Linked DNA regions of Homo sapiens: all the other regions are linked to region 5. Evidence: promoter capture Hi-C in 16 types of primary human blood cells and fetal thymus (Javierre and others, 2016). All regions are on one chromosome and are shown on one strand. Each heading gives the region's core, a stretch centred on a gene start or on the middle of the fragment in contact. The rest is flanking DNA. Distances are from core to core; before and after follow the strand shown. Region 1 overlaps ATIC (5-aminoimidazole-4-carboxamide ribonucleotide formyltransferase/IMP cyclohydrolase). Region 2 has its middle 11 kb from the start of FN1. Region 3 overlaps LINC00607 (long intergenic non-protein coding RNA 607). Region 4 overlaps FN1 (fibronectin 1). Region 5 holds the start of SPAG16 (sperm associated antigen 16). Region 6 overlaps FN1 (fibronectin 1). Region 7 overlaps LINC00607 (long intergenic non-protein coding RNA 607).

The links. Contacts are between HindIII fragments. The CHiCAGO score rates a contact against its expected background, and 5 or more counts as called.
Region 1: a contact is called between a fragment that was not itself captured here and the fragment with the promoter of SPAG16 in region 5, in 6 of 17 cell types (total CD8 T cells, total CD4 T cells, total B cells and 3 more). The highest score is 9.2, in total CD8 T cells.
Region 2: a contact is called between a fragment that was not itself captured here and the fragment with the promoter of SPAG16 in region 5, in 2 of 17 cell types (naive CD8 T cells and activated CD4 T cells). The highest score is 8.8, in naive CD8 T cells.
Region 3: a contact is called between a fragment that was not itself captured here and the fragment with the promoter of SPAG16 in region 5, in 4 of 17 cell types (total CD4 T cells, naive CD4 T cells, non-activated CD4 T cells and 1 more). The highest score is 7.7, in total CD4 T cells.
Region 4: a fragment that was not itself captured here is called in contact with the fragment with the promoter of SPAG16 in region 5 in 1 of 17 cell types (naive CD4 T cells); the score reaches 5.2 in naive CD4 T cells.
Region 6: a contact is called between a fragment that was not itself captured here and the fragment with the promoter of SPAG16 in region 5, in 7 of 17 cell types (naive B cells, non-activated CD4 T cells, naive CD8 T cells and 4 more). The highest score is 7.6, in naive B cells.
Region 7: a fragment that was not itself captured here is called in contact with the fragment with the promoter of SPAG16 in region 5 in 1 of 17 cell types (naive CD8 T cells); the score reaches 5.2 in naive CD8 T cells.

The regions. Positions count from the first base shown.
Region 1 is chr2:215,346,112-215,349,902 of GRCh38, reverse strand. It overlaps ATIC (5-aminoimidazole-4-carboxamide ribonucleotide formyltransferase/IMP cyclohydrolase), which reads right to left. Exons shown (of 16, transcript NM_004044.7): 14 at 2,962-3,144; 15 at 654-809; 16 at 139-367. The coding sequence ends at 248. Among named protein-coding and RNA genes, the nearest start is that of ATIC, 36 kb to the right of the region's middle. The HindIII fragment of the contact is 1,839 bases long and covers 839-2,677 here.
Region 2 is chr2:215,445,122-215,449,129 of GRCh38, reverse strand. No RefSeq gene overlaps it. Among named protein-coding and RNA genes, the nearest start is that of FN1, 11 kb to the right of the region's middle. The HindIII fragment of the contact is 6,217 bases long and covers 1-4,008 here.
Region 3 is chr2:215,686,917-215,690,801 of GRCh38, reverse strand. The region is part of intron 5 of LINC00607 (long intergenic non-protein coding RNA 607); the gene reads left to right. The region is part of intron 7 of LOC102724861 (a long non-coding RNA gene); the gene reads right to left. Among named protein-coding and RNA genes, the nearest start is that of LINC01614, 29 kb to the left of the region's middle. The HindIII fragment of the contact is 1,424 bases long and covers 1,915-3,338 here.
Region 4 is chr2:215,424,258-215,427,901 of GRCh38, reverse strand. It overlaps FN1 (fibronectin 1), which reads left to right. Exons shown (of 46, transcript NM_212482.4): 7 at 2,617-2,808; 8 at 3,577-3,644. Among named protein-coding and RNA genes, the nearest start is that of FN1-DT, 9.6 kb to the left of the region's middle. RefSeq lists an enhancer at 3,381-3,644. The HindIII fragment of the contact is 5,386 bases long and covers 1-3,644 here.
Region 5 is chr2:213,282,717-213,286,292 of GRCh38, reverse strand. It overlaps SPAG16 (sperm associated antigen 16), which reads right to left and starts at 1,829. Exons shown (of 16, transcript NM_024532.5): 1 at 1,674-1,829. The coding sequence starts at 1,809. It overlaps SPAG16-DT (SPAG16 divergent transcript), which reads left to right and starts at 2,084. Exons shown (of 3, transcript NR_161186.1): 1 at 2,084-2,260. RefSeq lists enhancers at 1,427-1,506, 1,577-1,626, 1,667-1,796. The HindIII fragment of the contact is 3,357 bases long and covers 410-3,576 here.
Region 6 is chr2:215,363,649-215,367,630 of GRCh38, reverse strand. It overlaps FN1 (fibronectin 1), which reads left to right. Exons shown (of 46, transcript NM_212482.4): 43 at 2,001-2,126; 44 at 2,646-2,752. It also overlaps a transcript of ATIC not described here. Among named protein-coding and RNA genes, the nearest start is that of ATIC, 54 kb to the right of the region's middle. The HindIII fragment of the contact is 1,282 bases long and covers 1,005-2,286 here.
Region 7 is chr2:215,669,290-215,673,221 of GRCh38, reverse strand. The region is part of intron 5 of LINC00607 (long intergenic non-protein coding RNA 607); the gene reads left to right. All of the region lies in intron 4 of LOC102724861 (a long non-coding RNA gene), which reads right to left. Among named protein-coding and RNA genes, the nearest start is that of LINC01614, 47 kb to the left of the region's middle. The HindIII fragment of the contact is 1,062 bases long and covers 821-1,882 here.

The DNA of each region.
Region 1 (3,791 bases), core at 509-3,008, 2.1 Mb before region 5:
CACGGGCAGTGCTGTGGGATGGGCTGAGCTCCGGTAGGCAGGGGTGCTCTGGAATTCCTCATTTATGTGTTATGTGTCATGTGTCAGTTCAAAGAGCCTGCATCTTTAACATAAAACACAACTACCAAAAACTATGGATCCAGTGATTAAGAGATACTGTTTTATTTTTTTAAAAAGTTATCCTCAAAGTTTCAGGCGTGACTGTTCACCTACACATAAGCAAGCCAAAAAACAGTGTGTGGTAAAATCAGTGGTGGAAGAGCCGAAGGTTCGTATGAGCGAGGATGATTCCCAGTTCGTCGCAGGCCTCAATCACAACTTTGTCAGCAGCAGAACCGGAGGGAGCCGCAATGTACGCCACACCACTCTGGGGGAAGTATATTGATTTTCAAAACGCGATTTTATGTAAAAACCTGCAAAACTCAAAATCCCCCTCTAAAAAGCATATGCTAACAAAGATACACTCAGTCAAAAAGGCAAAATAACAACAGGATTTGGGTTCTCCATCCACCCAATGGAGAAGTCAAATGGTTCTCTGAATATTACTGATCTGTATCACTTTGCCACACCTTTTAAAAATCAAAAGCAGGATTTCTGAAACAGTTTCTACATAATGCTCAACTCTAAGCAAATGCACCCAATTCCATACTTACCCTTTTAGCTCTGTCTACGTTATCTCGGAAAGGGAAGAAGGCATCAGAGCTGATAGAAACTTCAGTCAGTTTCTCAACCCATTCCTTCTTCTCTGCCTCAGTGAGTAACTCAGGGACTTCCTCAAACAGTGCCTTCCACTTTATCAAATCTTCATCCTATGCGGGGAGAGAGAAAGGAAGAAGCTTGGTCTGACATCGTCTTTAGTTCTATGTGGTGCAAATCACCATGCCAGAAAGCACCTGGGCATTTTTCTTAGGACTTGTTTTTATTATTATTATTATTTTTTTTTTTTTAGACGGAGTTTTGCACTATCACCAGGCTGGAGTGCAGTGGTGCGATCTCGGCTCACCGCAACCTCCACCTCCCAGGTTCAAGCAATTCTCCTGCCTCAGCCTCCCAAGTACCTGGGACCACAAGTGCACACCACCACACCCAGCTAATTTTTGTATTTTTGGAGACAGAGTTTCACCATGTTGGCCAGGAGGGTCTCAATCTCTTGACCTCATGATCCACTCACCTCGGCCTCCCAAAGTGCTGGGATTATAGGCATGAGCCACCGCGCCCGGCCAGGATTTCTTAATTGTAAATAATGACCATTATTTACATGGAAGTTCACATATCTAGAATCTCTTTGATGCTTTTAGAAATATTTTCATTAAGGAAAAAAAGTGATTCTAAGTTTACCAAATAAAGATAATACCATTTTACTTTCCAAATCAGTTTATTCCAAGTACATATGTAATTTTTTTTATTTTTGGCTAAGCTACTTACATAAAAATACACTGTTTTAAAATCTCTAATTTAAATCTACTTCGTATCTACTACTTTATGTCTATTAGACTACCGTCTAATTTAAATCTACTGCTTTGGTACTACTGTAGCAAAGAAAGCAAATAAAAATTGTGTTCCAAGGGTTTTCAAAAAAACCCTCTATATCCAATCTAGGAAAGAGATGAGTAGTTCTTTAACTACATTTATACAAAAATTATTCTAAATGTAAAGGCAGTTGTAGACAAAACACAATTCATAATATTTGCTATGGTTTGAGTGTGTGTATCCACTCCAAAATTCATGTTGAAACTTAATCCCCAATGCAACAGTATTAAGAAGTATAAGGCCTTTAGAAAGTTATTGGGCAATGAGGGTGGGGCCCTCATGAATGGATTACAGACTTATAAAAGGGCTTCAGGGGAAGTATGCCCCTTCTGTGAAGTAAGGACACAGTGTTTGTCCTTTCCAGAGAGGGCTGTGCCATCTGGGAAGCAGAGGGTAGGCCTCCCCAGACTCTCAGCCCACCAGTACCTTGATCTGGGACTTCACAGCCTCCAGAACTATGAAAAATAAATGTCTATGGTTTATAAGTTACCCAGCCTGCAGTATTGTGTCATAGTGGCACAGACAGTTAATCATATTTTACAAGGTGCTTCTATCTTGGGTCATGTTTTAGCTTTGACATACTTTTATTCTTGTTCACTTCCAGGACTCTTTCAGGACTAGTAGCAGGGGTTGACTGGTAATATCAAACAGAAAAATCCAAGTATCAAAGTTGAAAAAAAAAAGATATCTTAAGGACTTCAGTTACATTCTGCAGCCTCACTCTTCAATGACACTTATGTTGATTCCTGCTCCTGAATAAAAAACTGAGGGTAGTCAATTGGCTCTTCAGAAGACCATCTAGTATTTGATTAGCAGCCTTCTGTTTTCCATCCAGCATTTTGTTAGGCACGCAATATGTCCAGAAACTGGGCTAGATCTTTTCTTCTGGCGGGCTACCTACCTAACGTTTGCGATTGTAATGTTCCCACATACCTTCTTCAAACAGAAGAACATGAAATGTAACAAAATGTATCAAGTTATTAATGGCACATGTAGAAAATGTGGTGGGAGAAGACCCCAGGGTTACCTGCCGTCAGGCAATTTGTATTTAATGTTGAATACAGACCCATCGGACAGCAAGCACCATGCATGACGTGGTGGCAGGCACCTCGACGTAGGTGAAAAGCAGTCCTTGTCATCAAAAGCTTATAATCAACAGGGGAAGTACAAATATACAAACCTACACCAAGGCTGCAATTTAAAAAGACAGAGGACTGTGGTTTCAGAAAGGGGTCAAAAACAATGAAGAAAGTTACATGAGACAGAAGAACATGAGAAATGTGTAAGAAGTTTCAATGATCAATTTTAGACAACATAGAATTTCAATGAAAGTATCTTTTTCTCTGTGTGGTGATGAAGTTAAAATCTGTTACACATAAAGGGTTGAACTGAATATTAACACAGCCGAGAACCCAATGCCAAGTCTTTCACCTCGCCAATGGTTCCAGTCACATATTGATCGATGGCATTGGAGATTTCTGCTCTCTTCACTCCTGTTTTAAACTTCATCGAAAGCACTTGTGGATGGTGTCTAAGCCACCAATAGTTTGCCTTATCTCCTGCAAGGCGAGTGCAGTGTATACGAGACTGCTGTCCTGCTCCAATGCCGATAACCTGAGGAACACAGACATTAAAGTGAACACCTCTTCCAAAGACACTTTCTTCTCAAAAGGATCTTTTGTGCACATTCTCCAAAACCTATTTATTAGTTTTGTGGAAGAACATATCAGGCCAAAATAAGAGAAATATAAATAATTTTTAAGTCATTAAAAGGGGTGGAGTAAGAGGTTTGTTTATAACTACTATTTATACCTCTTCAGTGATATGTGACATATGACTATTAATAATCTACAATTCAATAAAATTGATGGTTTGAGGTCAAAAAAAAAAAAAAGTTAAAATAAATGACCAATGCTGGGTGCACTGGCTCATGCCTGTAATCCCAGCACTTTGTGAGGTTAGGACAGAAGGATTGCTTGAGCTCAGGAGACCAGCCTGGGCAAGATGGCAACATCTCATCTCTACAAAAAATAAGAATTAAAAAATAGCTAGGGGTAGTGGCGCACACCTGCAGTCCCAGCTACTCAGGAGGCTGAAGTGGTAGGACCGCTTGAGGCCAGGAGTCGAAGGCTACAATGAGCTATGATCATGTCACTGTACTCTGGCCTGGGCAACAGAGCAAGACCCTGTCTCTATAAAAAATAAATAAATAAATAAATAAAACTAATGACCACAAAAATAACTATGGTTACTTGAAAGTC
Region 2 (4,008 bases), core at 198-2,697, 2.2 Mb before region 5:
AATTCACTTTAACCTTTTGTGTCAGAGGCTTTTCTCAAAGGTTTGGTGACTGATCCTTTGACATCCATTCATGTTTAGAATCGGGACACTAAAGATCTGATTGGAAACTGCACAGAGGAGTGGAGCTTAGTGACTGATTGGCAACACTGTAGGTGATGGGGTTAGAATCTGGCTATTTCACTACAGGACTCCCCAGTGTCAGATCTACAGATTATTGTCTCCAAAGAGACTAAGTCCAGAGAGAACATTTTCAATCTGCCAAATGGAGAGTAAGCATGTATACCTTCACTTAACTCTCCATTTTTTTTAGCCCTGTGCTTCACCACTATCACCCTCCCTGCCACTGAGTTTGGGGTTTTTCTGGTTCAATCTATCTACACAGCAAATTTCCTGGGTCCTACTTGGGCAAGAGGAGTGGATCAGTCCATGGCTGGGTAGAATAGGGGCAGGAGTAACAAGGGCGTCCAGTTATTCTTTATGCAGATACTTTCAAACACCTCTCAGTCCCACTTTCCTGCCCTCCCTTCAGAGGTACCTGATGCCTCCCATGATTGAGGCTTTCCGGGTTTCTTGAATATCAATCAGCTTCTTTTTTTTTTTTTGGCTTGCAGGCATTAATTCTGTGACCTTAGGTATCACTTCTCCACCTGTGTTCCTTTTTCCAAAATGTTGTTGTCTCTCATCTACTGTCTCCTTTCTTATTCTCTTTATTCTTGTAGGTTTAAATTGTTTTCATCTCTGAACTATAGGTGTGATTTCAGGAGGGTGTAGAGGAAATGCTTGTGTTCAGTCTACTGTGTCTTAGGTTCGTGCATTTTAAATATTGCCAAAATGTCCTTTTAAAAGATTACCTCAATTTTCACTCCTAAAAATCTGTGCACATGTATACATTTTTCCAACTGACACACTTGCCAATAGTGTACAAAAATCAACCTTTTTATCTCTGTCAACTGACTAGTACATTTTACATTCCTTAAAAGTAGAGCCTACATCTTATCTATCAACGTCTCCTACACACAATGATTGACACAAAAACATCTGTAAGAAAGAGCAAGAATCAACAAATTCAGCCCTTCAGTTAACCAGGCATTTGCCTTTGGGCATATTATGTCATGCCTCTGGAGTTCTATCTATGAACCTAAATTTATCACTCATTCTCTTGTTATCATTAATACTCCAGGTGCTTGGATTCATTTGCTAGGGTAATACAAAGTACCATAGAATGGAGGCCTTAAACCACAGAAATGCATTGTCTTACACTTCTCAAAACCAGAAGTCCAAAATCAAGATGTCAGCAGTGTGGGTTCCTTCTGAAGGTTGTGAGGAAGAATCTATTCCATGCCTCTCCTCCAGCTTCTGGTGGTTTGCGGTAAATCTTCGTTTCTCCTTGGCTTGTAGATGCCTCACCCTGATCTTTATCTTCATCTTTCCTGGCATTCTCCCTGCCCGTGTGTCTGTTTCCCTCTCTTATAGGACAGCAGTCATATTGGATTGGGATCCACCCTGATGTACGTGTTTTAACTTGATGACCTCTTTAAAGATCCTATTTCCAAATCAGGTTACATTCTGAAAGACTGGGGGTCCAGACTGAATTTGGGAGGGACATCATTCAAACCATAACAGTTCTCTTAGCAGGTGCTCAAGAATATTTAACGGAAGACTTGAATTTATTATTTAAAAACAAATGGTAAAATATTATGGGAGTTTAGCTTAGAAGCTAAAATTCTGCGTGGAGTTTATGGAAAGCTAGGAAAAGAGAGGAAACTCGAAAGTAGAATTGCAAATACCAGGGCAAAGCTAGTAAACAAATCACATGCAGTCAGCAGGAACAGAGCAGCTGAGCAACTAGGCATGTAAGGAAGGTAGTGCATCATACTGGTTACTATGAAAGCTGGGCTGCTGTAACAAAGCTGCTCAGTAACACAGGGCCTTCTACAATAAAGGAGGGTGTCTACTTCTCATGCAACAGTCTCAAAGTGAATGGCTCATGTCAATAGTCAAGGTCTGCTCTTCATGATAATTCAGGTCCCAAATTTTCCCAAGGCATTTTGATCATCTACATGGTTAGAAGCTGGGTGTCCTCTGTGTTGTGTATTTCAGCTAGTGGGAATGAACAAGGGAATCTGGAGGAGTGACGTTATTAAACTAAGGCACAGAACCAGAGTTGGGATAGATCGCTTCTTCTCACAGTCCACTGATGAGGAACTATTTCTATTGCCATGCCTAACTACAAGGGAGACTGTAAAATTTAGCCTAACTGTGTACAATGGGACTAACTGTGAAAGAAGAGAATGGATCTGTGTGGGCAACTAGCAGTCTCCACCACACAACTTAAAAAACTTCAAATGGTAGAAAGAAAAAAAAAAGTCTTTCTAAAAGGAATTAATTTAGTGCCTACAATCAAAGAGTTTACAGTACTGTTGGGGAAAAAAGAATCAATATAAAATTTTTGAAAGAGCTATAATAATATGCTGGCCTGTGTGGAAAAAAAAAAAAGTATAGGTAAAGTCAAAATGAGGAGAAGAAAAATACCAGATTGGGCCATAAGAATTAGAAAAGGCCCATGATCATTAATCTTGCCACTAATAATCATCATCTTTCTGTTGGTTTTCTCACTTTTACACAGAGATAACAATCACCATCAGTGACAACTTCTCACAGAACATAATTTATATCACCTTATTTACATACTAATTATATTAAATGATAATAGATCTCATAATTATCTACCAATTAACTTAATAACTATTTAATTCAACACATAAAAAAGCCATGGTTTTAGCATTTATTTCCTGTGATGTCTTTTCCCCCATGAGTTTGAGATTAAACTTTTCTTCAATTTTACTCTTTGATATCTTGTTCCAAAAAAATAAAATTTCTTTCCAAAGCTCAGACTGATAGAAAAGGATTTAATGCTATATAAGCTAAAAGGAAATATTAAAACAACAGTCAAAATATATGTAATAAGTGGAGAGGGGTGGTGTAAAAAAAAGAAAAAAGAAAAGATAAAATGTACGTAATAGAAAATTGTCAAAAGTATGTCAATACTTGTCAAATTGTATACAGGTATGTGGGGCTTATGAGATGGCAATTATATCTCAATAAACCTGTTTTAAAAATCTGAAGGGAACATTTCAGAGAAAATTGTGTGGACATGTTATTTAATTTTTTAAATCTTGAGTCATTGCCCTCTTAATTACCTATAGGAGAACAACCAGAACCACAATTTGCTAAGCTATTTTAACTGTTTGTCTAAGTTGTAACTTTAAGCAACATTAATTGGTCCGCCATTAAAACTTAAATTTGAAAGACAAGAATAGATAATTAAAAAACAAAAATTTTCGTTAGTGAAGGAAAATACCTTCTAATTTAATACTTGTGTCCTTAAGTTGAAAAACTAAGTTCCCCAGAGAAGTTTTAAAAATATCAGTGCAAACTTGGTTTTCTAATTGTAATTCCATAGTATATTTACTTTATATTGTTCTTCAAAACTGAAATGTGTTTACAATTTGGGTCTATAAATATTTATATTATTTTGCTTTAAAACTTAATTGGACAAAGAAAATGGGAAGATTAACTTAATGTGTAAGTTGGTAAAGTATCAGGAATCTTTCAAGAATTTATTGTCTGCCAGGTGTGGTGGCTCACATCTGTAATCCCAGCACTTTGAGAGGCTGAGCCGGGTGGGTCACTTGAGGCCAGGAGTTCAAGACCAGCCTGGCCAAACACAGCGAAACCCCAACTCTACAAAAAAAAAAAAAAAAAAAAAAAAAAAAAGAATTTATTGTCAACTGACAAAAATGTGACCATTTCGCTGTAAAAATAGAAGATAAATTATCAAATATCTTTAAGATGAGCTGTAGTGAAATACTGCTCATATATAACTAACAAAAATATTATAATCACTTTTAAATTCAAACAAGCCAAAATTAATGGATTCTCTAGTTTTTGAAAAATAAGTAATGTAAGTTGAGGCCAGGTGCAGTGGCTCACACTTGTAATCCCAGC
Region 3 (3,885 bases), core at 1,377-3,876, 2.4 Mb before region 5:
CACATCCCTGTGATCAGCAGGTGTCTGAGATTTTTAGTTGTTTGAAGATGCAGGTGTGTCTACTGACCCTACCTATGCAGCTTGACTCAACATTCCATCAAAAGAATGCCAACCCCTGTGTATTGACTAGGTATGTTAATGCTGATTCTTCATTCCACCAAGGCCAAGTGAATCTTGGAGTAAAGATTTTTTTTTTATTTCCATTTATTTGCTTGGAAGAATGATATGCAGACACTGCTAGTTGTCATTCTGTGCTTGTTCTCCTTTTCTATATATTATGTAACTCATGATTTTTTTGCTGATTACAGTGACCACCTTAAATATTCTATTTGCCAGCCTTCTTTCCAGCTGATTGTGGCCAGTTACTAAGTTCTAACCAGTCTGGCCAATGAGATGCTTATGAAAGCATCCTATTCAACTTACGAAAGTATCCTTACAGGGGAGAACACGCCTCATTTTGGTTCTTTGTTCTTCTAGCTGGAAGGTGGACTCTATACCTGGAGACCCAGCAGCCATTTTGAATATGAAGCAATCTTTGAAATGGGAAGCTGGGTTCCCAGTTAGAAGGAATCTTCATCCCTGACACCCAGAGCTACATACCACTTCTAGACTTTCATATGACAAGGAAATGTTTTAATCCTGTGTAAGTGACTATGTTGGGTTTTCTGTCATGTGCAGCCAAACCTAGTCTTAACTAATACAATTCCCAATATAAGCATATTCCACTGAAACCTTGAAGTCTTTCTCACATTCCATCTGGATTTGCCCCATTCTCTAAGGAAAGGATCTTATTATACACGAATGTTGTCATACAGTGCATGCAATGTCCATCCAGCCTTTGAAGATATTCCTATTTCCATTAAAAATCTTTGTGTCTTATTAGTATTAGTATTAATCTTATTTTCCAGAAGTAGGATCCTAGAGAAAAGAAAGATATAATTTCAAAAAGACCCCAGAAGTTATCCAATCTCATTGCCAATCTGACGATGCTAAAACCTTGGCATCTCACATGAAAGCTGTGAAACTAGTATTGTTTCCAAAATTCTTCCATCTCTATTGTTATTGCCATTACAATCATTCACAAAGTAATTAGATGTCAGGATAGTTTGTTTTTTAAAGTGGCGTGGGTATCTCACATGGAACAAAAACTCTGAAAAGAAGAAAATGACATTATTATAATTAATGCAGTTTTTAAGACTGTGTTTTAAGACAAATATTTCAAAGCACAAAGCATAATGGAAGAATGTGTTAGAAGTTAATAGACTGTGAACACTGATCTTGAGTCCCTCTGGACTTTTAACCACTTACGTGATTTTTGAAAGCCATTAAAAATATAGTATTAAATAGAGGTTGTCATCTTCCTTATACTTTTAAAGAAAACAGAAGGCAGAGCTAATTGGAATTGAGTTTAATGGAAGAGTTGAATGAAACTCAATGAAAGATCAGCAGCTTGGGAGGCCGAGACAGGAGGATCCCTTGAGCTAAGGAGTTTGGGACCAGCCTGGACAACACAGAGAGGCCCTGTCTCTTCAAAAAATCAAAAAATTAGCCAGGTGCAGTGGTGCATGTCTGTAGTCCCAGCTACTCAGAGGCTGAGGCAGGAGGGTCCCTTGAGCTAAGGAGTTTGGGACCAGCCTGGACAACACAGAGAGGCCCTGTCTCTTCAAAAAATCAAAAAATTAGCCAGGTGCAGTGGTGCATGTCTGTAGTCCCAGCTACTCAGAGGCTGAGGCAGGAGGATCACTTGAGCCTGGGAGGCCAAAGCTGCCACCATGGTCATGCCACTACACTCCAGCCTAGCTGACAGAGGGAGATCCTTTCTCAAAAGCAAAAAAAAAAAAAAGAAAGAAAGAGCAGCTGAATTGATTCCCAACTTCATCTTACTTCATCTTGGTACTAACAGTCATAAAAGCTTAGAAGAAACATACATAGCCAAGCCACTCACTAGAAAGGCAATGAAAATTATTTTCCTTTCTGATAAAAGTTTCATGTAATGATTTCACTGTGAGAATAGTTCCATATTTCATTATTCTATAAACAAGCCAACTCCCTCTATTTGTTTTGTACAGGGATGGGTTATGCACACATACACACACACACACACACACTCACACACATACACATATTATATGTAATATAAATATATTTACATGAGTATTTGTAGCTTCTGTCTTTTCTAAATGATAGAGATTCTGTATTTCCTTACTTGTTGGGCCCATGAGACTGTCTTATGAGTTTGGGAATCATAGCTGGATAGACATCGAAAGAACAGACAACTACCATTGGTGGTGTGTGCCTGTAATCCCAGCTACTCCGGAGTCTGAGGCAGGAGAATTACTTGAACCTGGCAGGCAGAGGTTGCAGTGAGCGAAGATCACGCCACTGCACGCCAGCATGGATGACAGAGCAAGACTCTGTTTCAAAGAAAAAAAGAAAGAGAGAGAGAGAGAGAGAGAAGAAAACATCTTTTAAGGTTGGGAATCATAGCTGGATAGACATCAAAAGAACAGACAACTACTGTGAGAAGAAAACAAATACATTGGTAAGGTGGAAGGGATGAGAGAAATTGAAAATACAAGCACTGAGTTGGAGGCTGAGTTCTAGGGGAGTTTCAAAGGACAGGAACTGCTGGGGGACACGGCTACATATGGGTGGCAGCGCTAGTGGCAAATGGACAACAGAGGTTTCTAGTCTGCATTGTGAACATAATTTTCCTCCTGGAATTTTTAAGGAAAGTGAAAGAAAAATTTACACTGTTTTTAGTTATTGTTGGATGTTAGGCTGATGTTTTCTGAATGTAGCACTGAGTTTGGACTGGACTATTTAATACATTTTAATGTATACATTCCTACTTGCCTCAAGGATGTATTGGTGATCTTTTGGGATCAGAGTTACATTTTGCTGGTTAGAATTAAATCTGAGCTCTTCTTCCTCCTCATCAATTTTCAAAAACCAAACTGCCGAGTTAGCTTTATCGACACCAACCTGAGCACTAGGGAGGTTGATTTAAACTATCTTGTAGTAATTAGAAGTGAGTTTTTGTCAAAAGGAATAAAAATAGATGAGTAAGATAATAATGGAGGTCCTGTCTAACAAAGACTTGGAGGTAAATAAATACTAAAAGCAATTTTCATGAATAGAATGAATGGACATTTCTGGTTCCTTTTTATCTTTTCCTCCTTTTCTCCCTCCAACAAAATCCATTTCAGAAGTGAGCACTGAAAGGAGTGGTTGATCTTTAAGTTAGCCCACATGACTTATGTAACAAAACACAGGCCACCAACCATCTAATGGGATTTTCCTTAATCTTTTAAAACAAATGCTTTTTAGATAAAGCTTCTAGATTTCAGTTACTGTGTGTTAGCTAAAAAAAACTGGAAATTGCTGTAGCATAGAGGAAGAGAGGACCTGGTCTCTAGTTAAGTGATAGATAATTCTTCTTGTACAATTAAGTGTCTTTCTTTCTTTTTTCTTCCTTCCTTTCTTCTTTCTCTTTTTCTTCCTTCCCTCCTGTTTTTTCTTCCTTTCTCTCTCCCTTCTTTTCCTTTATGTTTTCTTGTTTCACCTTTTCCCCTCAAATTGTAACTAAATTATCCTATCAGAAATTAGATTTTTTAAAAAAGAAATAGTTGCTGTTTGAATCTCTGGTCTATGTTTGGACAGTGCCATTGATAGAGAAAATCTGCTTTAGACATATGCTTTAAATTTTTGAATATTCTAGAGTCCTTGTCAAGGGCAGTTTTGACTCTGTCCCTTCCCTCATTCTCCCAGAGGACATTTGGCTATGTCTTGAGGCCATACTGGGTTGTCATGACTGAAATGGGGAGATGCTCCTGGCACCTGCTGAGTAGAGGCTGCTAAACATCTGCAATGCACAGAAAAGCA
Region 4 (3,644 bases), core at 283-2,782, 2.1 Mb before region 5:
CATAAAACTTACCATGGATAGATCACGCACACACGCACACACACACGTATTTTGAATATCCAAAGTTCATTTGAAAGGAAATGAGAGTTATAATTAATTATATGACTACCTGGTTCTTCTGCTAGGAAAGGACAAAAAAAGTGCATTTGGATTTTTTGTTTGTTTGTTTTTGAATGAAATATACTTCCCTGTCCCGACATTGAACTCTTTTTGTAGTGGAAACCATCCTTTATATGTGGTTTCTATGCTCTGGCAAACTTTGTTACATTCTATAAAGTAACACACAATTATTTCCTTCATGTATTGGCATTCGAAATTTTAGAAATTCAGAGAGGACTTAGAGATGGCCATGAAAGACATGATATCTAAGCATTCTTTTTAAAAAACAAGTTTTAATCATTTTTGGCATGAGAAAAAGATTTTTACGTCATAAATGTTTCATAAAAATCTGAAGAGAGAAATATGGCCAACAAGGACGTGCACTCCTCTCATTATTTTTAATATGTTTTGATTAACTTTTTACTATATGATGTGCCAACATCATTACGTAGTGTCTCAGCCATCCTTCAATTAAAAATATTAATTGTTCTAATTTTTCTTCTTTTGATGAGTTTTTGTCTTGCTTTGAGCACTTATGAAGGTGAACAAGATTAGATTTGATAATATCTTTGAGTTATTTTATTATCATTAATAAAATTGCTACTGGCCAAAAAAAATTATAAACATCGGCCACGCGCGGTGGCTCACGCCTGTAATCCCAGCACTTTGGGAGGCCGAGGCAGGCGGATCACGAGGTCAGGAGATCAAGACCATCCTGGCTAACACGGTGAAACCCCATCTCTACTAAAAATACAAAAAATTAACCAGGCGTTGTGGCGGGCGCCTGTAGTCCCAGCTACTCGGGAGGCTGAGGCAGGAGAATGGCATGAACCCGGGAGGTGGAGTTTGCAGTGACCCGAGATCGCACCACTGCACTCCAGCCTGGGTGATACAGCGAGACCCCATCTCAAAAAAATAAAATAAAATAAAAAATAAAAAAAATTATAAATGTCAGTCTACCAAAATAGATTAAAAGTGTAGGTGGGAATTAAATGGGGATAAACACTCAATAAATGTTAGCTATATATGAATATTGCCAATACTGAAAAGATTCCATTGTTCAAAAAAGTTTGAGAAGCAATGGGTTAAACAAAATGGAACCTGCTCTGCAGAATCTGTGTGTTCCTTTACATCATACTCTCCATGGTAGAGTGTAGGGGATGGGCGCCATGTCTCCCTAGTACGTTTGACCTTGGGATTCTTTGTCTGTGAACATCTTTGGGTTCTAGTGTTCAGCAGCACTTAGGGAGGCACTGAATTCAGTGTACCTTTGGTCTAGCCTCAGCCCTGATTCTGTTCTGCGGTGGGCCCTGGCCTTCAAGAGAACAGATATCTAAAAGTTGAAAGAAAAGATCGGCCGGGCGCGGTGGCTCACGCCTGTAATCCCAGCACTTTGGGAGGCCAAGGCGGGTGGATCACAAGGTCAGGAGATCGAGACCATCCTGGCTAACACGGTGAAACCCCGTCTCTACTAAAAATACAAAAAATTAGCCGGGCGTGGTGGCGGGTGCCTGTAGTCCCAGCTACTCGGGAGGCTGAGGCAGGAGAATGGCGTGAACCCGGGAGGCAGAGCTTGCAGTGAGCCGAGATTGCGCCACTGCACTCCAGCCTGGGTGACAGAGTGAGACTCCGTCTCAAAAAAAAAAAAAAAAAAAAAAAGAAAAAAGAAAAGATCAACACATCCTGTTGTGTTATTCTGAAAGGAAAGCTGTCTTAAGAGGATCAATTGGTTTTAGAAAAAACACAATAGAATCACAAATAATCCAGAGGAGAAATAAAATGTGGAAGGTGGAGGTGACCTCCAGAAAATCCAGGACAGCTGCTGAAGGCACCCTCTGATGAGCTCGGTTACTCAGAAGAGTGAGGATGTGTTGAAGGTATCTGCTGTATGGAGTGGCAGGATGATGTCTGTGATTGAGAAATATAATCCCGGCCAGGCGAGGTGGCTCATGCCTGTAATCCCAGCACTTTGGGAGGCCGAAGCGGGTGGATCCCCTGAGGTCAGGAGTTTGAGACAGGAGTTTGAGGTCAGGAGTTTGCCAACATGGCAAAACCCCGTCTCTACTAAAAAATACAAAAAAAATCAGCTGGGCATGGTGGTGCGTGCCTGTAATTGCAGCTACTTGGGAGGTTGAGGCAGGAGAATAGCTTGAACCCAGGAGGCAGAGGTTGCAGTGAGCCGAGACCGCGCCACTGCACTCCAGCCTGGGCAACAGAGTGAGACCCCATCTCAAAAACAACCCAAAAAACCAAAAAACAAACAAACAAAAAGAAATATAATCCCAGTAGCCCCAGCTGAGCTGGAGGATGGAGACCACTTGGTAGACACTTGTGGATTATTTCCTAGGCTAAATGCAAAAGCTACTGCTGAATAAGGGACATTTTTTTCCAGTCCCAGGCCAGTAGCGACATAGATTTCAGAGTGATCTCTGTGAGATCCTGAAGATCCTGACTGCAGAAAGTAGTGAATTGTCTTCTCTCACCCAGTTTTGTGACATTCCCTTTTCATGCCATTAGGATCTGGCCCCTTCACCGATGTTCGTGCAGCTGTTTACCAACCGCAGCCTCACCCCCAGCCTCCTCCCTATGGCCACTGTGTCACAGACAGTGGTGTGGTCTACTCTGTGGGGATGCAGTGGCTGAAGACACAAGGAAATAAGCAAATGCTTTGCACGTGCCTGGGCAACGGAGTCAGCTGCCAAGAGACAGGTATGCATTATCTTTTTGAAGAATAGGACTGATGACTTTATTATTTAGTTTTTGAAGGACAATACATTTTCAATGTGAAACAATAAAACAAACAAGAAGCCTGTAATCTTACCACCCTGTGATAACAATTAGGGTTGGCATTTGAAATAGTTTCTTCCAATCTTTTTAATTTATGTATTTTCTTTCTGGTCATGGATATCATGGGTAAAAATTTTATTGTATTTATCTGTCTAAAGTGTTGTTACAAGAGAGCTACTTTCTGAATAATCATCAATGTTTTATATTCTAAATCTCAAATTTCAGCAGCTTTGTGATGTAAACATCTTCCAATAACCTAATATATGTATTCTGCACTACAAACATGGTAGTCACTATGGCAATAACAATTGCTACACAATTCTCCCCCAGAATAGTCTCATATATTAATTTTATGGCATAGATATAGTCATAAATATTATCCCAACATCCTTAAGCAGCATCCTTAATTGACCTGTATAAATATAGCTTTACAAATAGAGAAACTGAGGCATGGCAGCAGAAGTGGTCATGAAGGACATCAGCAGAAGAACTCAGGTGTCGTTCTATCCACAGTAGACATGGATTCCTGAGTAATGCATTTTGACTGAAATTAACGAGATGATCATCTATACTCATAGCTTCTTCCTTTGAGGGCACAAGCTCAGTATCTCATTGAAGCCATAAATAAGCAGCTGCTGGTGGGAGATAAAGCATCTCTGTTTACTGACACTCTTTTGATTATGATTGTAGCTGTAACCCAGACTTACGGTGGCAACTCAAATGGAGAGCCATGTGTCTTACCATTCACCTACAATGGC
Region 5 (3,576 bases), core at 580-3,079:
AATAGCAGTCAGTCAACCAAAGAAAGAAGAAAAGCAAATGGGTTGGATAATTCACACAACGGTTAGTAAAATCCTAAAAAGTTACAGTTGCTTATATGTGTTAAAGTTCAAATAAGTGTGATTATTTGAAAAAGTCTTTGTAAGACAGGTTTGCAAACTGCTACATCTTGGCAGGTGTGACTCAGTGATCTCCCTGCACATTAAGTAAACCTGATTTTCATTGCTGAAAGTTGTGTTATGTTAGACTCCTACCATTTATTTCACAAAGATGTTTGCAAAAAGTTACCTCATTGTGTCAATCTCATGTTAACAATTAAACTATGTGTTCACGGAAATAATTTTAATGCAAACAAAATTACAAGATGCCTGGTTACCATTCAGTAGCAAGGGCACTGGATATAGATAAGCTTAGGAAGAATTATGAAAATCGTTGTTAAAGAGGAATATCACTGGAAAAGACTGCCTGTTACATCTACGAAAACAGTATAAAACCTCATTTATGACACTAAAGCACCCATATATTTCTTTCAAATTCATTTCAAGCGATTCAAATTTCTATTCCTGTAAAAGTCGTTTTTGCACCCAATAAAATACTACATATTTTCTTTAATCTTTCAGCTAAATTCTTCAAAGCTCTCTGTAGTGTGGATGTGTACTGAGCCTGAGTCAGGACAGGTTAATCGGCTTGTCAAAGCTCACGAAATGAATCATTGCTGGATTTCTGAAATCTTGAATTAAACCTGGAGAGGATTACAGTTGGACAAACAAATAAGATTTGGCAGATTTTGGAGTTTCCTTGGTATCTTTAAGAACTGAACAGATAATCATCTCTTTCTTACCTCCCTGAATAAAGGAGTTACATGTCTTTTTCTCATGAACCCTCCCCGTCTCCCTAGTAGGAATTAATCTATATAACTAGAGGAAAGAAGTTCTAAAGCCTTACACAAGAAATAGTGGACCTAATTATCCACACATTGTTATTCAATTTTTCTGGTACTTCCGATAAAAATCGCTAATCACCATCTGCTTTATTCCTAATATCTCTGAGCTGTGTAGCTCACCAGATCATTATTTATTTGCTCAAGAAAAAAAAGCAACTATACTATTAGTATTTATTATTAAGTAGTCAAACTTGGAACTACTCAGGAAGATAATGCTATCAAAACTAAGCATTTAAGCATTAACTGGACCATCGAACAGGATCGTGGGTTGGGTATTCTGAGCTTCAGCTCCTTAAAGTCCAATGGCAGAGGTCTTTCCCTAGTCTCCTAACGTTCCTCCGTTGAATTTATTGGGACGGCTTTCTGAAAGATTGAGGGCTTATTTAGGAAACCCATTATTTGAAAGGAGGGTTGAAGCAATTTGTTGTGCTGTCTTAACATAAAAAGCAACCCTCCATCCAAAATGTACTGAGTGGTTACTAAGTATGAGGCCTTGGAAGGTCTCCCAACTCTTCTAACAGGTACAGGACACCCTGGGCTACTAAGGGCGAGAAATTCAGTGAGTGGCTCTCAGGAAGACTGTGGTGGCAAAAACAGCACCTTGAAGTCCAACAGAGGCTCCTCCGGAGTGGCCCCAAGGCTCAAAAGGCGCCGCCAGTGGGAGGCCCTCGCCTTCGTCCCAACACCCATTACCCGCCAGCGCAGCGGGCCGCGCCTCCACGGGAAGGATACGTTCCAGGTAGTAGGCGCCCTCAGCCGCCACCGCGTCCGCCGTGTCCCTCGCGTCCCCGGCTGCCGTCAAACCCATGCCCAACGCCTCTTCCAGGACCCTCACGGCGGAGCTGGGCATCCCTCGCTGAGCAGCCATCTCTGGCGCTTCGGGCCCCCACCCCCAGCAGGCCCACAGCCGTCCCTAAGGGCAACAGCGAAGACGCTACCCAACGGCCCCCGGGAGCTCTCGCGAGATTCCGGCATCTCTCACCCCGCCCCACGGACCAGCCCCGGGCACGTAAGGGTTACCGGGAGTCCAGGGAGCTGTCGCCCTCCCGCGCCTCCCAGTTACCGTGGCAACGATGTTGCCTAGTTAACGCGAGAGCTCGGGCGCAGCTCTGGGAGCGGACAAGATACAGTAAACAATTGGCTTGCATTGCACCTTCCTACCCAAGCAGCTTGGTTTTCTTTCGCTTTGACCCTGTAATTTCTTTCCCACTTCGTTGTCGTCTCTGAATTACCTTTCTCTTGATTCTTGCCCATTAGCATCCTCCAATTTCAGATGTTTGTAGATCCCCAAGTGTTCCCAGGGAAAACTACTAGAAAAGGTGAGTTCTCAACACCTGGAATTTTTTAAAAAATGAAAAAATAAAGTTCTAGAAATCATAATAGAAAGACTGACCCAGGGGAGCTACCAGACGCTCCTCAGATGCTTAGCAATGAAGAACTATGGTGTTCAGCTTTGTCAATTCCTTTCTTGTGATCTTTAATGCATTTAGCTGGACATCTGTTTTGAGTTTGGTTCCATATACTAAGACTTGGAATAGTATTTGTAGCATTGATTCTCGCCAAGGTAAAAACAGTTGCATAAAAATTATGAGCTACAAATTTGGTCCTGACAAATGTATGCAGTTGACACTTGCCCCATCATGTATAGTCTTATTGCTGAGAGGATCTTCCTCAGGTTATATCGCGTATGTATCAGAAGCAAATTCAAGGCCCTTTTCTTTGCAAATATTTTTTTTTCCCTTAACTTTTATTTTAGGTTCAGGGGTACAAGTGCAGGTAAGCTCATGTCGCAGGGGTTTGGTATATAACTTATTTCGTCACCCAGGTACTAAGTGTAGTACCCAATAGTTATTTTTTCTGATCTTCTCCCTCCTCCCACTCTCCTCCTCAAGTAGGCCCCAGTGTCTGTTGTTCCTTCTTTGTGTCCATTTGTTCTCATTATTTAGCTCCCACTTACAACTAAGAACATGCAGTATTTGGTTTTCTGTTCCTGCATTAGTTTGCTAAGGATAATGGCCTCCAGCTGCATTCATGTCCCTGAGAGGACATGATCTCATTCTTCTGTGGCTGCATAGTATTCCATGGTATATGTGTACCACATTTTCTTTATCCAGTCCGTTGATGGGCATTTAGGTTGAATCCATGTCTTTATCATGAATATCAATGAACACGCATGTACATGTGTTTTTATGGTAGAACAATTTCTGTTTCTTTGGGTATATACCCAGTAATGGGATTGCTAGGGCAAATGGTATTATTTTTCATTCTACATTTCTTGGTGAAAACTGGAAGCCAGTGATCCTATAAAAGCTCCCATTTATTACCAAAAGGTAGCAGTAACTTCCTAAGGAGGTGTTTGAGAGTACGTGTGTCAGAGCCAGAGAGACAGCTTTCAGAGCCTGCTTCCATCACTTACTAGCTATGACACATTGGGCAAACTACTACTTAATGCCTCTAGGCCCCAGTTTCATCATTTGTAGAACAAAGACAACAATATTACCTACCTCAAAGTGCTGTTGCAAGGGGTAAAGCAACAAAAAGCATTAAGAACTTACTGGGAACATAGAAGACACTAAGAAATGTTAGCTGTTATTTCTATTAAATGTGTTTGATATTGTTTTATTTTTTAGAATAA
Region 6 (3,982 bases), core at 396-2,895, 2.1 Mb before region 5:
ACACATAAGATTATGGTGCTAATTTGATTTTTGAAATTTTCTGTGAAAACAAATGGATAAAGACTTTTGGAACCAGGTCTATTTAAGAGTATTAGAGACACAGAAAAACCTCAAATCTCTTTTAATCTTCAGTGTTGAATGAGATCAGAGGTGAACATTTAGACTCAAAAACAGCCTCCTTCAACATAAACCAAACATGCACATATCATAGTACCCATGCACACACTTTTGCGTCACACACATAGCCCAGGTAGCTTGAACGTTGCTAGAAATATGAAAGAAAAAACAGATAATCTGCTTTTAGATCATTAAAAATCAACTTGAATTGATAAATGTTTGATTTTCAAATTCTAATACGTTTTAATTTTCAAATTTTTTAAGTTAAAATGTGCCTAGGAAATATCTATTATGCTTTGAGATTAGGATTAGAATTTATAAACCTTTCATTTATTCTTTGTGTTTAGGAGATGTGATGATTATTGACAATTGGTTCATTTTTATAGGTGTTGACCGTTATGCCTATAAATAAGCCTCCTATAGACATACAGAAATCATATCCTGTGGAATTAGAATATAAGACTTGGTAAAAGAGATTTTCAAAGTATTTTACTTAACTTGTATACTTGAAATCATTTAATCCAGACTGAAGTTGTAAAAGCCAGCCAGTGTTTTCAATATAGACTTCCATGTTTGACCATCTGAAAATGAAAAACACTAAAAACATCACATGCTGTTTAGGAGCTGGAAATTTTAATATTTGACTTCAAGTAGATGGTTTTTAACTCCTGAAATCGAACTACGTTTAAGTTTGTATGTTTATTACCTGTTTGAGCACTTAGGTGCAATTGTGGGAGCGGGGATGTCAAGTTCATTTATGTGACTCTTTGGCTCAACTTACATAATCTTTGTTTTGATATCACAGTTGTCTAATTATTTTACTTTGTAGCTTAAGGCAGGCTGAATTGTTGATAAAATGGAAAAAGTAGTATATTGTTATATAAGCTTCTGAGGTGTGTTTTGTTGTATAAGCCCTGGAGGTTAAAAAGTCATCCCTTATGTATAGTAGTTAAAGGCATAAAACTGTGACTTTTAGATATTCCACAGAACCAGACTTATTTGATGTGGATAATAACCAATGATTTAGCATTTTGTTTGCTTTTGTTTTATTTTATCCGGGTTCATTTTTTACTCTTCCCATGTACATGAAACAGGTGGTGGCGTGTAGAGATCAGCTGATCCTTGTTTTATGGTTAATTGAACTACTTTGTATCCAGGGTTTCTGCAAATCCAAAAGTGATTTTTCATCTAGGATCTATTCCTAACAGTCTACTCCAATCCCACTTTAGTTTTCCACAATTTTAAATCTTAATAGTGAGAATTCAAATGAAAGTCATTTCATTTGACTATTCTGATGACATGATTGTGGCAGAATAAATTGGGTCTTAAAATGCCCTAGAAAATGGTAAATGATAAAAAATAATATTTTAAAATTCAACCAAAGAAATGGCCCATTGGCCAGGTGTGGTGGCTCACACCTGTAATCCCAGCACTTTTGGAGGCTGAGGCGGGTGGATCACCTGAGCTCACGAGTTTGAGACCAGCCTACCCAACATGGTAAAACCCCATCTCTACAAAAAATACAAAAAAAAAAAAAAAAAAAAAAATAGCACTGTGGGGAGTGCCTGTAATCCCAGCTACTCAGGAGGCTGAGGCAGGATAACTGCATGAACCCAGGAGATGGAGGTTACAGTGAGCCGAGATTGCACCACTTCACTCCAGTCTGGGCGACAGAGAAAGACTTTGTCTCAAAAAAAAAAAAAAAAATAAAAAGTAAATAAATAAATAAAATAAATGGCCCATTATAGGGGTTTTTATCTTTAACTTGCTATTTTTCCAGATCATGGTTCTGAAGACCCTGTGACACGTCCCAGTTCACCTACTGTCTTGTGAGTCAGAATATACAAATAACTTTTTGGTCCTGACTTTCCCCACCCCTACAGGATGGTGCCATGACAATGGTGTGAACTACAAGATTGGAGAGAAGTGGGACCGTCAGGGAGAAAATGGCCAGATGATGAGCTGCACATGTCTTGGGAACGGAAAAGGAGAATTCAAGTGTGACCCTCGTATGTCATCACAGATCATTTTTAGTGCCTTATTAAGCATTCTCACTTTCATTATCAGGCTGTAACTCTCATTCACAGAAATGATTGGAGACTTTAGGTCTCCTTGAGGAGTGAACAGTGGGTTTCTTAATCTTTTGATTTGGGAAAGTGGAGACAAGCTTCAAAAATGAGTCATGATTTAATGTTATTACAGGACACTTTAGCACTTGTCCAACCTGAGTATTTTGACCATTATCTGCAGTAAAATGCTACAAAGAAGCTTTATTGGTCTGTAGATTCAACTTTTAAAATATGATTTCCATCTTCCCGTTGGACCCTTTCCAGTGTATTAGGTCTAATTTTTGGAAGTGCCACCCTAAGATCTGTATAGCAGTACTGCTCTTAGGGATGATTCACATAAATATGTGGTGTTTGCGCTGTGATGATACAAATTTAGGACAGAAATAGAACCCACCCCTAGATCAAGTCTGCAGTATTGTTCTCAGCTTATGCGTGCATCTGTCTTGTGTCTATATGCAGATGAGGCAACGTGTTATGATGATGGGAAGACATACCACGTAGGAGAACAGTGGCAGAAGGAATATCTCGGTGCCATTTGCTCCTGCACATGCTTTGGAGGCCAGCGGGTAAGACTGGATGTGCCAGGCTCCCTACAAGTTAGATAAGATAAAGGGTGGGCTCCTGCAAGGATGTGTCGTACACACAGGAGGGGCAGAGACCCTTCGGAAGTATTAAAATACCACATTTCCTGTTGGCATACAACTGCTGACATAGAGCTCTAGAGCAGCTCTATGTCTACCTTACATGCCATTCATTCTTTCTATTACTCTTAGTAGAAAGAATGAATGAATGGCATGTAGAGTACCAAAAACACAAGTCTTGAGTCATTCTTAATAGCAACACCTGTCATTTATATGATGTTAGAATCATTTTCCTAAGCTCCCTAGCATGTCAGAGATACTATTTACACTGAAAAATAGTGAAGCAGAGATACTATTCAAATTAATTAGTGGTAAATAGAATGTGTTTCATTTCAGCCGGTTCTCCCCATCCTGGGCAGCCTGAGACCCTCCCCTCCCCTACTATTCTCAGGCTGCTTCTATTTTTCAGCAAAGTGTTAAGTGCAGTGTAGCTCTAGGCCTCCAACTCCATTCTGATGGACAGGTGTCCCATGGCAACGTTGTTAAATATTTTGAATAATATCTCAGATGTAAGAAAATGCCACTTCTTTTAACCTCTCTCTTGATTCAGAACAGATGCTTGTTATAGGTCTAGCACTGTGCTAAGTAGTATAGGAAAAACAGAGGAAATGAGAAATGGCTTGGCTCTTAATGATATAGTTGAAGATGTTAAATTAGCATACATTTCAAAGTCAAGCTAATTAAGTTCTAAGTGGGTCTGACAAATACAGTTCTGGGTAGGCTGGAATTAGCAAGAAAGAGAAGCATGAACTGGCTGAGGTTTACGATGACTAAGGTTTAGTTGGGAGGGGAGAAAGCAGAGAGACACACCCCCTGGGATAGAAAGGAGCTGGCCCAGGTGGGCTTTGGTGAGCCAACCCTCTGCCTGCTGTCTTCTGGTAAGAAAATAGATGGGAAGAAGTGGCTTATGGAGGGCCTTGGCAACCCATTATTTAAGCCAGTACTTCTCAACCATTTCTAAAATATGCCCAGTATAACAAAAAATAATAAGCCTTTCTCTAATATGATTTCAAATTTCAAAATGAAATTATGTGTAACTCAAAAGCAATGGAATGTGACAGCCCTTTGTTTTCAACGAAGACATGCCCTCCCAGCAACTCCCCAAATCCTGGTGGGTGAGGGGCATGCTTCACACTCAAGGGTGAGACTCATTGG
Region 7 (3,932 bases), core at 102-2,601, 2.4 Mb before region 5:
TCCAAAGTCTATTTAGAATTAATATTTTACCACTTCAAGGAAAATGTAGAAACCTTGCAAGCATATTGAGTTCTTTAATCTCCCTTCTTTATTTTATAGTTTTTATATATCTTACATCTACATACATTGAGAACCCTGTGAAATAATGTTATAATTTTTGTTTTCCATAATCATACATGTTTAAATACTTAAAAGCAGAAAATCAGTCTATTTCTCAAGATATTTACCCTTTATTATGCTTTTATTTCATTTATGAAGTTTCAAGTTTCCCTCTGTTATCACTTTTCTCCACCTTGAAAAGCTTCCTTTAGCATTTTTTTAAACACGCCTGCTGATAATGAAGTCTCCTAGTTTTCCTTCATCTGAGAAGGCAATTATTTTGCCTTTATTCCTGAATGATAATTTCAGAACTGACAGTCCCTTTTTTCCTGACACTTTAAAAATGTTGTGACACTCTCCTCTGGCCTCTAAAGTGTCTAATGAGAAATCAGCCATCTTTCAAATTGTTTTTCCCCATATGTAATGTGTCATGTTTTCCCTTTCTGGTGGCTTTCACACGTTTTTCTTTATCTTCAGTTCCCAAAAGTTTAAATTTGATGTATCTGGACATGGTTTTCTATGAGTTTATCTTGTTTGGGGTTTGCTGGGCTTCTTGAATCTGTGAATGTATGCCTTTCACCATATTTGGGAAGTTTCTATCATGGTTTATGCAATATTTTTCTACACTAATACTTTTCTCTTTTCTAATTATGACTCTAGTGACACAAACATTAGATATTTTCCCCAATGGTTCCTGAGGCTGTATTTATTTTATAAAGCTTTTTGCTCTCTGTTCTTGGATAATTTGGATGAAGTGAATAATTTTTGTTGACTTGCCTGCTAATCCACTGACTCCTCCATCATCCCCATTATGTTACTGAGCCTGTCCAGTGAGTTATTTCAGATATTATTGTTTTCAAATTCTACAATTTGTATTTGTTTTTTTATGCATACAAATAAATGTTTGGAAAAATACAAAAAAAAATTTCCATACATTTATTTAGTGTTCACTTTTACTTTATGGGAGATAGTTATAACAGTTGCTTAAAGTCTTTGTTTAAAACTTCTGTTTCTGAGATCATGGATGCTACTATATTTTGGAAATTTTTCTAAATCTTTTTTTTTTTTTCTTTTAGACACAAGGTGTCTCTCTGTCACCCAGGCTGGAGTGCAGTAGTGCAATCATAGCTCACCGCAGCCTGGAAATCCTGTGCTCAAGCTATCGTCCCGCCTTAGCCTCCCAAGTAGCTGGGACTATAGGTGCATGCCACCACTCCTGGCTATTTTTCTAATTTTTTGTAGAGATAAGGTCTTGCTTTGTTGCCTAGGCTGATCTGGAACTCCTAGCCTCAAGCAATCCTCCTGCGTCGGCTTCTCAAAATGCAAGATTATGGGTGTGAGGCACTGTACCTGACTGGTTCACTTCTTTGTTAAACAGCTAGTGTCCGAAAAAATTATTTCATTATGACATTCTTGGACATTCTGGAGTCAATGATGTCCAGTAAAAAGAGTAATAGTCAGGACTTCTATACTGTTCCCAAATTATATAGTCAGACATGTGTGTTCATTTGTTTTTCCATACTGGGAAAACCACAGCAGAATATCAGCTGTGCAGTCCACTACACCAGGAAACTCCATAATAGAACTCTTTACCTTCAATTTTTTCTTACTAGTCATTTCTTGGCTCTGAATATTTACCACCCACTTGTAGTCATCTCCCCTTCTCTCAGTTCCTCCCAACCTTCCGCTCTCATTCCTCAATAGTTTCATGAGTAGATTCCATATTTGGGCCAGCTCTACTCAGAACGATCATCAGCATCAGCATCAGCATCACCTGGAAGCTTGTTAGAAATGCAAATTCTCAGGTACTCCCCATAGCTACTGAATCAGAAAATCTGGGGGTGGGGCACTGGAATCATCTTGAACAAGATTTCTATTATTATTTTGCGCACTAAAGTTTGAGAAGCACTAGTCTAGAAATTCATTAAGCTCATTTGACTGGTTGGAGGAAAAATGGGGAGGAGGTAAAATTTAGCAAGTGAAGGACGGGCCAGAGTTGATGTCAACTAACAGAGAGGAGGGTGATCAGACATGACAACTCTCAAACAGCAAGGAATGGGTATGGCAGGCACTGAAAAGCTAATGCAGCTGGTAAAGTGTGGTTCTAACATTGGCTGTCAGATCTTTTAATGATGTCAGACGGTAGGCACATAGGGCAAAGGAACATATTTGTGCACAGATTATTTCAGGAAGCTACATAAGTATATGCATGAACAATTTCACATTGTTTTTGTAGAGTAAGAAAGTGAGGAGTATTTTTTTCTGCATCTTATTGATAAATAGGAACAAAATCTCTGAAGTGACCTGATCAAAGTGACACAGTAGTAGCAGAAGTTGAAACTCTAGTTAGAGTTGAAGCCTATCACACCGTTCTGTGACTTCAGTAACTGATAGGTGAGGCTAGACAACTCCTACTGTGAGCAATTTATCACCAACCCTAATAACCCAAAAGATTGGGTAATAGAGTACTGCTGTATTCATCTGGTAATACCTCCCTTGTCACCAAACTCAGAAACGATGACCGAGCAAATGGTAGTTGCAGAAACTGATTACTTGTTCAGACGATGTGAGTCCTGGGGGAGGTGAGTCTTCAAAACCTCCCTTTATGCATTCAGCACTTTTAAAAGTGCTTATTTTCTAGAAACAAAAGTTTTACTGTTTTCAGATACTGGTTCACAGTAAAATTGAAAATGCAGTTGTTAATCAATCCTCAATCCCTATGGAAATCTTACCACAAACTTTGGAGTAATTTGTCATTTATTCACATTTTCAACAGGCAGAACAGACTTTGACCCAAGGTGCTTAGGTATAGCCTTGTTTATATAATAGTTAAGCCTAAGATTTGAGTGTCAGCGTTGATAGGTAGTGTTAAGGTGGAGATAACAGAGTCTCTAAAGCCAAATTTTGCTGTTGAATGTAGCCTAATTTATCTTATTTTAATAGCTCCATTCATTTTGCTTTGGGAACCTTTCCATTTGGTTTTCTCATCATGATTTGCTGTGATATGCAAGCTTAAAAGGTCTAAAAGTGAAAAGACTAAAAGAGAGGGATTTGGAGATCTTGAGGTAGAGTTTCCCTAAAGCTATTTACACGGCTGCACAGTTATCATCCCAGATGTCAGAAATGAGAAAGCACCTCTTGCCGTAGGAGATGGAAAAGGGGAAAAGGAACCGAAGAGAGGAGTTGAGGCAAGTTCCTTTGATAGGTCCCATGACTGATGTGGAGTGGATCAGGGAGTCTTCTTTCCAGAAGCGTGAGTAATAGGATATCCCATCATCTTCGTGATGGGATTATGGAAAGCCAGGCATATGGGCTGGCTATTCTGGAAGATGCTCTCTGTGTGCTCTAGACCATAGCCAATGCCTTGATTAAAACAAGAGAACAACATCCAGACCTGGAGAAACAGCTGGCCCTGCTAACAAGGCAACCTGCCTCCAAAGCTCCAGGTAGGATGGATGATCAGAACTGAGAAGGGAGACTTGGGTAAGAGCAGGGCAGGGGGAGCTCTGCGTTTTGGTGACAATGACCAGGACTTGGGAGTAAAGTGCCATCCTAGGGAGGCCAACCTGAAGCCATCGGATTCTGACTGTATTCAGATAAGGAACATAGATACAGAACCTCCCCTTTGTGTCAAACAACTCACTTTTTTTCTTTCCTAGAGTCTGTCTGTCTGTCTCTCTCTCTCTCATGCCAGATTTACTTACTACTGGGTAAAGAGAATAGAACCAGTCTGTGTTTCTTTCCTTCAGGCAGGCAATTTGCAAGCCCTTGATGTATTTCCACCCCTGCCAGCTTACTCAGGTCTTCTCTTAAGCACTGAGCCTTGTATAATG